3 separate regions of the Homo sapiens genome follow, and regions 2 and 3 are each linked to region 1. The links are contacts of gene promoters, found by promoter capture Hi-C in blood cells and fetal thymus (Javierre and others, 2016). All regions are on one chromosome and are shown on one strand. The core of a region is centred on a gene start or on the middle of the fragment in contact, and the rest is flanking DNA. Distances in the headings are between cores, read along the strand shown. Region 1 holds the start of GFM1 (G elongation factor mitochondrial 1). Region 2 has its middle 240 kb from the start of SHOX2. Region 3 overlaps IQCJ-SCHIP1 (IQCJ-SCHIP1 readthrough).

The links. The method cuts DNA at HindIII sites, captures the fragments that hold promoters and counts their contacts. A CHiCAGO score of 5 or more calls a contact.
Region 2: a contact is called between a fragment that was not itself captured here and the fragment with the promoter of GFM1 in region 1, in 1 of 17 cell types (M2 macrophages). The highest score is 7.4, in M2 macrophages.
Region 3: a fragment that was not itself captured here is called in contact with the fragment with the promoter of GFM1 in region 1 in 1 of 17 cell types (M0 macrophages); the score reaches 5.4 in M0 macrophages.

What each region holds. Positions count from the first base shown.
Region 1 is chr3:158,643,012-158,646,012 of GRCh38, forward strand. It overlaps GFM1 (G elongation factor mitochondrial 1), which reads left to right and starts at 1,516. Exons shown (of 18, transcript NM_024996.7): 1 at 1,516-1,704; 2 at 2,618-2,770. The coding sequence starts at 1,624. The HindIII fragment of the contact is 2,960 bases long and covers 1-2,113 here.
Region 2 is chr3:157,864,479-157,867,479 of GRCh38, forward strand. No RefSeq gene overlaps it. Among named protein-coding and RNA genes, the nearest start is that of SHOX2, 240 kb to the right of the region's middle. The HindIII fragment of the contact is 3,328 bases long and covers 1-3,001 here.
Region 3 is chr3:159,257,052-159,260,052 of GRCh38, forward strand. All of the region lies in intron 3 of IQCJ-SCHIP1 (IQCJ-SCHIP1 readthrough), which reads left to right. All of the region lies in intron 3 of IQCJ (IQ motif containing J), which reads left to right. Among named protein-coding and RNA genes, the nearest start is that of SCHIP1, 15 kb to the right of the region's middle. The HindIII fragment of the contact is 4,962 bases long and covers 1-3,001 here.

The sequences.
Region 1 (3,001 bases), core at 266-2,765:
AGGACTTGGCCTGCTACCAGTCTGATTATTTGCCAGAGGGGACCAGTCAGAGGTACTTTCCATTTTTTCATCTGCAATGCAGTGCATTGGGAGTAGCCTCCGATCCTTTTGTTACTTGGGCATGGAGAGGTGGGGTTTTCCTTTTGGTTCAGCTCTAGGAAGTCAGCAGGGCCTTCGGTTCCCTGTCTCTAGACCCTGTTCTCCTGCCTCACCCATAAAGGGAATTCCCTAGAGATACTAAAGGCTGTCTGTCTCTCTTCTGAGCAGCCCACTCTGCCTCTCAGAGTGTACTTTTGGTTTACAATAAACTTTTTTGCCTACTCTTACTTTGTACTTGCTTTCAAATTCTTTTGTGTGGTGAAGTCAAGCACCTGAACCGGCCCACTGACAACAGCAAGGATAGAAGCAGTGAGATCGGTTACAAGGCTATTACAATAGTTCCCTCCAGAAACGGCAGTACTGAGAGGTGGGGAGAAGTAAGTTCTGGATTTTCTTTTTTTTTTTTTTTTTTTGAGACTCGCTCTGTCACCCAGGGTGGAGTGCAGTGGCGTGATCTCGGCTCACTGCAAGCTCCGCCTCCTGGGTTCACACCATTCTCCTGCCTCAGCCTCCCGAGTAGCTGGGACTACAGGCGCCCGCCACCGCGCCCGGCTAATTTTTTTTTGTATTTTTAGTAGAGACGGGGTTTCACTGTGTTAGCCAGGATGGTCTCCATCTCATGACCTCGTGATCTGCCCGCCTCGGCCTTCCAAAGTGCTGGGACTACAGGTGTGAGCCACCGCGTCCGGCCCTGGATGTCTTTTTGAAAGTAGAGCTTACAGGATATGCTGACTGATTAGACCGGAGATGTCACAGCATGGTGTCAAAGCGACTAATATTTTTGGCTAGAATCACTAAAGTTTACATTTATGAGATGGATAAGACTGTGGAAGGTTTGGGGAAGAAGATCCGAAGCTCAGTTTTGGACCTGTTAGGTTCAACATGCCTCTTAACACATCCAAGCAGAATGGTCAAGGATGCAGTCTTCCACATGGACAGGACATGAAATGTCTGACATCGAACAATAACAAATAACATTTTGACATGAGGAAAAGTATTTGTAATTGTAATTGATAGTTCATTCACTATAATTTGTCCACGTTCTTTTTCAGGCCATGTCATATATATACCTATTAATATTTGTAATAGACAATTTTGCTCTTTTCTACTTAAATTGTTATATACATTTCTCCACATTGCTTTATAGGCCTAACAACCATGTTTAAATTCTGTATCTTCATACAGAGGTAATATTTAAAAAAGAAGACGAAGACAAAAGGACTCCCTTCCCTCACCCATATACCTATGCCGTCTTACTGGGAGCAAACACTTCTTTAGCTCCGCAAAGCGATTGCACTTTCTCTTCCAAGTCGGCAGACGGCGCGCGAGCAGCGTAGGCACTGCTCCGCCTCCAATCCAGTTGCTCTTCTTTCTTTTCCTCACTCTCTTTTTCCTCGCGTCCTTTGCCCCGGAAGTGCTCTTACAACATTGGCTGCCGGCGTGACTTTGACCGCTTCCCGGTGCGTTACCGGCAGCTGAACCCACCCGGCGCCACGGGACTTTGACGCGTGCTCTGCGCTTGCCATGAGACTCCTGGGAGCTGCAGCCGTCGCGGCTCTGGGGCGCGGAAGGGCCCCCGCCTCCCTAGGCTGGCAGAGGAAGCAGGTACCGGAGCATAGAGAGGCTAAATCGGGACCATTCCCGGAACCTTGTGATCCCTTCTGGGCAATGGAAGGCCGTGACACCCCCTGGGTCCTCATGACTGACAGCTCCGAATACTGGCAGTCGCTCGTCAGTGCTGAAAAGCACCTCGGTGCCTGCACATTAGCTCGTTAGCTCGTTTGTTTCGCTCTCTGGTATCCCTAGGGTTTAATCAACTAAAAGTGTCTGTCACTCAGATACTTTGATATTTTATCCACCTTTTCTAAGGTTTTTTTTTTTTTTTTTTGCCTCTCTTTTCCCGTGAATAATTGTGCATTTTGGATGTGCAGTCCTATAGGGAAAGGTTTATATTGTATCTTCATTCCATCTAATAGGGATCCCCATCCCCTGCCACCAGAGTAAAGTTAAAACAAGCTTCATGAATTGTTTTTGTTTGGAGGGAATTGGAAATCTTTGGGGGCTGTCTTGGAGCTACTAGCATCACTGCATAGAGCATATAAGTTCTCAAACATATTTGTCATCTGTGAACTACAATAAAGGAGAAAGGGAAAAAAATTAAGTTAAATTTAAGCTAAAATTTGTATTTTCTATTAAAGTATTTTTTGGAGCTGTCTTTGTGATTTTATCTGCCCCAGTGTGTATTTTCAAATCTGCAGTAAAAAGTGTCTCCCATTTTAATTAAATTTAACTTATTCATTAATTAATTTTAAAAGAATACGTCTTTACTGTCTTGTTTTGAAGTCTGTCCTCTGATTACAAGAGTTCCAGGCTTAAAGGTTTCCCCTGGTGCCTTTCTCAAGCTATCTCATATCCAGTGAGATTTCTTGGAGGAATAATGTCCACCATACTCCTTTTAATTGTCTGTTGTTCTCTCTTATAAAAGGTGCATAGAATTGAGCTCTCGTATTTTTTTCAGGTTAATTGGAAGGCCTGCCGATGGTCTTCATCAGGGGTGATTCCTAATGAAAAAATACGAAATATTGGAATCTCAGCTCACATTGATTCTGGGAAAACTACATTAACAGAACGAGTCCTTTACTACACTGGCAGAATTGCAAAGATGCATGAGGTATATATTCACGGTTGATTCCGGATTAATTAGAACCAGATTTTAATTGTTTTGTTGCTATTATTTAATAAAGCTTATAAACCTGAAAGATTAAAACAATGGTAACAGCGGACTTTTGACAGTTAGGCTTATCTGAAAGTTGCTTAAGTTAAGTATCTGTGTTCTGGTTTTATTTTTATTTTTTATAGAAGAGGTCTCACTTTGTTGCTCAGGCTGGTCTCAAACTCTTGG
Region 2 (3,001 bases), core at 241-2,740, 780 kb before region 1:
ACAACATACCTGATACATTTGTTCTAAATCCTGTGATTGAAAAATAAGCACTTCTTAAAATTGTTCTACTGTACACACATGCTTCCAAAAGAGATGAATTATAATTCTCCTTCCCAATTCATCCATACATACTAGGTAAAGAAAAGGAGACAACTCACAAACAACTAAAATTCAGATAAAACCCTGCTTACTGTTATAAATAAGGCCCCACTCAGTTTAGTTCCACTTTTCCCGTGTATATTTCCTTAGAACAGCATTTTAAAACAGCAAATTGAGCTCCTTCAATCAATTGGGACCAGTTGGTGAATCAGGAGCACTGACTTTTTAAAAAACACGAAATAAAAGAGAATAGAAAAACATCACATGTGCTAGCGTATAAGTAATTATATGTATATGTGTGTGTGTGTGTGTGTGTGTGTGTGTGTGTTCACTTGGCCTTAATGTAAAATAGTCAAAATAGTTTTAAATCCACTGCTTTGAATTTCATTTCTTATGTTCAATTTCACAGTAAACCCTCTTTCTTTTCATTTGAGGAGGAAGCAGGGAGGTCTGGAGTTGGGACAGACCAGGGTAATGGAAGACATCAAGAATCTGAAAGATGAATGAGATCAAGACTTAGAAACAGGCAGTCAAGGGAGGAAAAACAAGTAGCAAAGCTGGATCTGGCAAGTACAGTAGGTCAAATACGACACTGAAGATGCCAGGCAAGTCCAGTTGAAGGACTAGGTTCCATGTCTCTGGAATTTCTATATTAGAGGGAGCTCAGAAGTGGCAATCTCATTGGAAGGGGTGTTGGTGGCTTAAAGCTGTATGTGCATAGTAAACTTGGATTGTATCTTCTCAGGGTGGGTCTATTAAGTTGTGATGAAAATTATGAGGAAACTAAAGCACCCCCAACCCACGCCACCAAGTCATCCCCTTGGTACCACCTCTAGACCAAAGGAAACAGATGTCAAAGTCTAAATGAATTCTGAGGCCCAGGCCCCAGATGAAATTCTTACCCTGGCCCTGCTGCTTCTCCAGCTGCCTTCAGGAATGCCCTCCCCCACCAGCAGGGGGCGTGGCAGCCTCGGAGGAGGCCCACTCACTGGCCACCCCACAGGGAGTTCTGCGTGAGACCTAACAACTACCTGAAATAGGCCACTAACAAAGCCGACAGGGAGTAGAAATTGATGTAAGAGATATTACCGAGGTGGAACTGACAGCTCTTAAATTTGCTGGAAGTAGGGGGTTGGGTAGTAAGATAGACAGAGCACTCTGAGATGGCTAAGCAATGTGGAGTCTGAGTTACTGGGTGGTCTTCCCTTTGGACAGGCTGCGTCCCAAGGTCACAGGGCTACAGTGAGTTACTCACCGGGGACAGCCTGAGTGAGTCTATTAGAAACAACTCAGGAAGACATAATGGGATTGAAGATCTCCACTGTGAGGGTCAAAGAACTGGAGCAGAAAATTTGCTTTACAATAATCAAAGACTATTAGGACCGTCATGCTGCATCATAATAATATATCCAAATCCTGCATGTGGCCACATGAGACAAGGTCTGTAAATCCACTCAGCCCAGTACACGGCTCCTAATAGAGGGTCAGTCTATGCTAGTTTCATTCCAGTGTATCATGTCCAGTCACCAAAACATGGACATCATACCATTTGAGTCTCAAAACAACCATGTAAGAGAAATAAAAGAATAACGTTAACTCCATTTTAGAGTATAAAACTAAGGCCTCCCTCATTTAAGTGATGTTTCACAAACCCAATAAGGAGGGTTTTGACTTTTAACTTAAGTTTTCTACTGCCTCACTTTGTGGAAAACCAGCATAGGGAGTTTACTCCAACATTCAGGACCAAGGAAACATGGATCAGTTCCTGAGAAATAAGAAATCATTGGTATCAGACAAATTCAAGTAAGCAGCTCCATGTATGTGGCTAAGTAAGTAGTGGATTATTTAAACTCTTGCAGAGATATTGCTTATCAGCTGACAACAAACCTGAGGGTGCAAAACAAAGCCTCAGAAGCAAACAATCGAAGAGGAAAACAATCTGGCAAATATCATTAAACTATTTTTAAAATAGTGTATCTTTTAAACTAAGGGATGTTGTACAAATACTTTTATATTTTATTCACATATTTGTTATTGCATTTTTCCTATTCTATATTTGATTTGTTCATTATAAATTGAAGTTAAATATGCAAATACAGAAGCCCCTGCCTCCTGGTACCTGAAAAGGTTTTAAGTCCCCTTAAAATATCGACGTATCGACATTATAAGTAGTGAAGGATAAAAGTTTCTTTTTTTTTTTTTTTTTGGAGATGGAGTCTCACTCTATTCCACCACGCCCAGCTAATTTTTGTATTTTTAGTAGAGACAAGGTTTCACCATGTTGGCCAGGCTGGTCTGGAACTCCTGACCTCAGGTGATCTGCCCACCTCGGCCCTCCAAATTACTGGGATTACAGGCGTGAGCCACTGCTCTTGGCCTGATAAAAGTTTCTATTATCACTTCAACACCAAAAAGAAATGAAACTAAAATGAGAAAAAGAAAACAAGTCTGATCCTATATATAACAAAGTATAGATGACAATTGCAACTAGTTGCCAATTCTTGGAAGGAACAAAAAAATGTATCAGGTGTTGATTGGTTTCTCTGGATTTAATACAGCTTTCATTCAAACCAATAGCAAAATAACAGCATTCTTCACTTTATCCATGCCCAGAAGATCCCAGGAAAGGTCAGAAATTTTCACAAATATACCCAAGAACTTCAGCAATTTTTCCAGGAAAATAAAATGAGGCTTCAATGATTTTCTTTTGAATGTCCATGGTGAAGTCATCCCTGTTGACTTTCTCATTGCTAACCCTGACAGATCCTCATTTGTCAATGATTTTACATGTGATTCAAATAGTCTTCAAACATCACTTTTCTCAACTTCATGAAATCTTGCACATTTTGCAAAATTTCCCATTTCCCTCTGCCGTCAATTTCCCTTGTGTTTTCACATTATT
Region 3 (3,001 bases), core at 139-2,638, 610 kb after region 1:
ACTCTAAGCATACTTTATCATGAGATAAAACTTTTTCTTCTTTGAGCTATTTCTGGGATGCAATGTTAGAAGAATTACATTTGTTAATCACCTACTTGTCATATATCCCAGAACTGTGGAGTGGTCACTGCCCTCAAGGATTTTACATTCTAGTGGGGGAAGAGGACTTGTTTGAAAAGAAGCATTTGGATTAGCCTAATCTGATACTCTTCTTTTTGGATGTTTAATAGTATTGCAGGACCACTATTTTCTTTCTTAGACTCAGTAACCCTGGGTGCATTATTTCTGAAGCACCTTCTCAGTCCTCATAAAGAAAAGAGTGTTATAGATCCAGGACCCAAATTGCCCAAATTCTCATGTGTGAGAACATTGACATTCTTGACAGTCTGCAAAGTTATGGGTATTTGAGAAGAGACCTATGGAAAGAGCCAAGAGAGCATAGGCCCTGGTGCGTAGGAAGCATCATCCATCAGTGTGGCAGTGAAGTCGAGAGCTACAAACCGGGCGGATACTGGAGTGGAGGGGAAGCAGGCTGGAAAGAGAGGGCAGTTTCTGTGGGAAACCTGCCTGTTGCATGCAGTGGCCCCGTATTGACATTTGAACAAGTTTGTATCAGGATACAGGGTTGGGATAGATAACAAATGATGCAAATATGATATATCTGTTAGGATAGCTTTTAGCTAGCTGCATATAGAAAAATCAACTAACAGACTGAAATAAGTAGGGGTTCTACTTCTCCACTCACAGTCAGTATATGACAAGCCAAACCCACTGTCTCCATCCTGTTTCTCTATTTCTGCCTTTTGCTGAACCGTAAGGAGGGAACAAACGTAATGGGGAGGCAGGGATCTGCTCTGAGTTTTGGGAATGATGATCAGTTCCCATCTTGTTTCCTGAGACCGGCCAGGACTGTTTGGTTGTAAGTATCAGAAACTCAGCTCAAACTAATTTATAGATGTAAAAAAGATCATATTGAATCACATAACAGAAATACCCATGGTCTAACGTGCTTTAAGCACACTGAAACCCGGGCGATTGGGCAAGGTTATCAGGCATCTGTCTTTCTTCTTCTATAAACTCTGCTCTTTCCATGATTCATTCTCATGTGGGTTCTCACAACATTGCAACAAAGTGGCCACTGCCAGCTCTAGGCTTGCAGGTAGTTTCAGCTCTACTTGCTGAAACTTTAGATGAAAAAGAGGGCCTTTTTCTCATAGTCTCAGTACAATCCCCAGAGCAGCCTTTAATAGACCTGGCTTGAACCATGTGTGCATCTCCAAACTGAACCAACCACGGCCCTCTGGCTAGTCAGCCCGGGGGAATGGACCACCCTCTACAGTGATAGGGTAGGATCTGTTTCATCCAAAGCTCGTGGGTAAAGAGTTGGTGGATCCGCAAAACCAATGAAAAGGAGAAATTAATATTGGGCACGCAAAATCTACCCATGTGATAATCATGGTGCCTCCCTCACAGTTCACTTGTGGTAAGGATTGAATGAGAGAATCAACACAAAAAAGAGCTCTATGTATGTCAGCTATTGTTTCCAAGATACTCAGATTCAATGTATCCTCTCTGATGGTGTCCTCTTTTGTCCATCCCTAAATTCAGCCTACTTGAGTTATAATGTATTTTGAATTTTTTATAATTGTTTGGTAACATATAAAAAATAGTACTTTCTCATAAAAAATCAAGATTTCTGGCTGTTCTTGAAAAGTTGAAACCAATTATCAACTGCACCAAAGCAGGGTTGCCCACACTGCCCAGTCTGTGCCCCACTGCACAGTCTGCCCCCAGCCTGACCCCAGGTGGCTTCTGAGAGCCTCTTGCCATCTTTGTAGCCTCAGACTTACTGCTCTTCTCTGGGATCCTCCTGCTTCCTGCCTGGTGTCTTCACTTCTGTGCCTTTGCCCAAAGATCTTCTTCCTCTCCATCAATCTCAATCCCATCCATGCTTCAGGACTAATTAAAATACTAGGACTCCCTCAAGCCTTCTCTAAGCACCCTAGCTCTCTGGGAACCCTCTCCTCTCCTCTTCTAGATAAACATATGCATTGGCAACCCGGACTGCACTGGCTGTGAGTCCCCCAAGTGGCTGTGAGTGCATGACAGAGCCAACCGCACTGCAAAACACACAGGGATATACAGAAAAAGGGCAGAGGCAGGCAGATTGTGCCACCCCTGCTATAAGAGAAGATACACAGGAACTGACCTAGCAAAAAGAAAAATTGTTGAAAATGTATTTGTCATCTGTTTAGAAGTAAACCCTTACACTTTATTTATAATTCAAAATATAGGAGCACACAACATGTGCTTTCTTACTTCAACAAGCCTTTAAATAATTATAATGAATAGCATTGTCTAGTTTCAAAAAAAAAATGTCAAGGTAGTGGGTAATTTACTCTGTAGCCACAAAGGAGACTTGTGAACAAGAATTATGGTAAATCTAGGAGAAGAAGGCTGAAAGTGATTCCTTATGATTGAGAGATGAGGTGCTTCTAAATTTTACTTTAGTTCCCTCTTACAGTAAAATAACATCTGGAGATGGTATTAAGACAGCTTAATACTGGAACAATTTAATCTTTGAAGGTCATGTTGTAGGAATCGCCAAGGGGAGTAAATAACATGTAAACACTTTTCTATGATACAGAGAATAACATAGCATAGTTCCATCATTAAAAAACAATGTAGCAATTTTGGGTAATAGCCTGGTGTGACATGATGGCCCTGTCATTTTTTGACCCCAAATGCTAATTTAAAGACTTGTCCAGCTTATCATCTAGTCCTCAAAACTGTAATTATGAAGGACAAGTAGTAATGAGAAATATATATATCATAGTATGTTTTAAAAATAATAAGATCGTGTAATAAATTGTTTTCACATATGTGGATGACTATAAAATAAATATTACAAAAAAACAGCTCCTGTATTAAGAAAGTCAGTGGGTGCACAGATGTTTTAAATACATATTTTAAAAGTACTTAATATTGTCACCTTATAAAT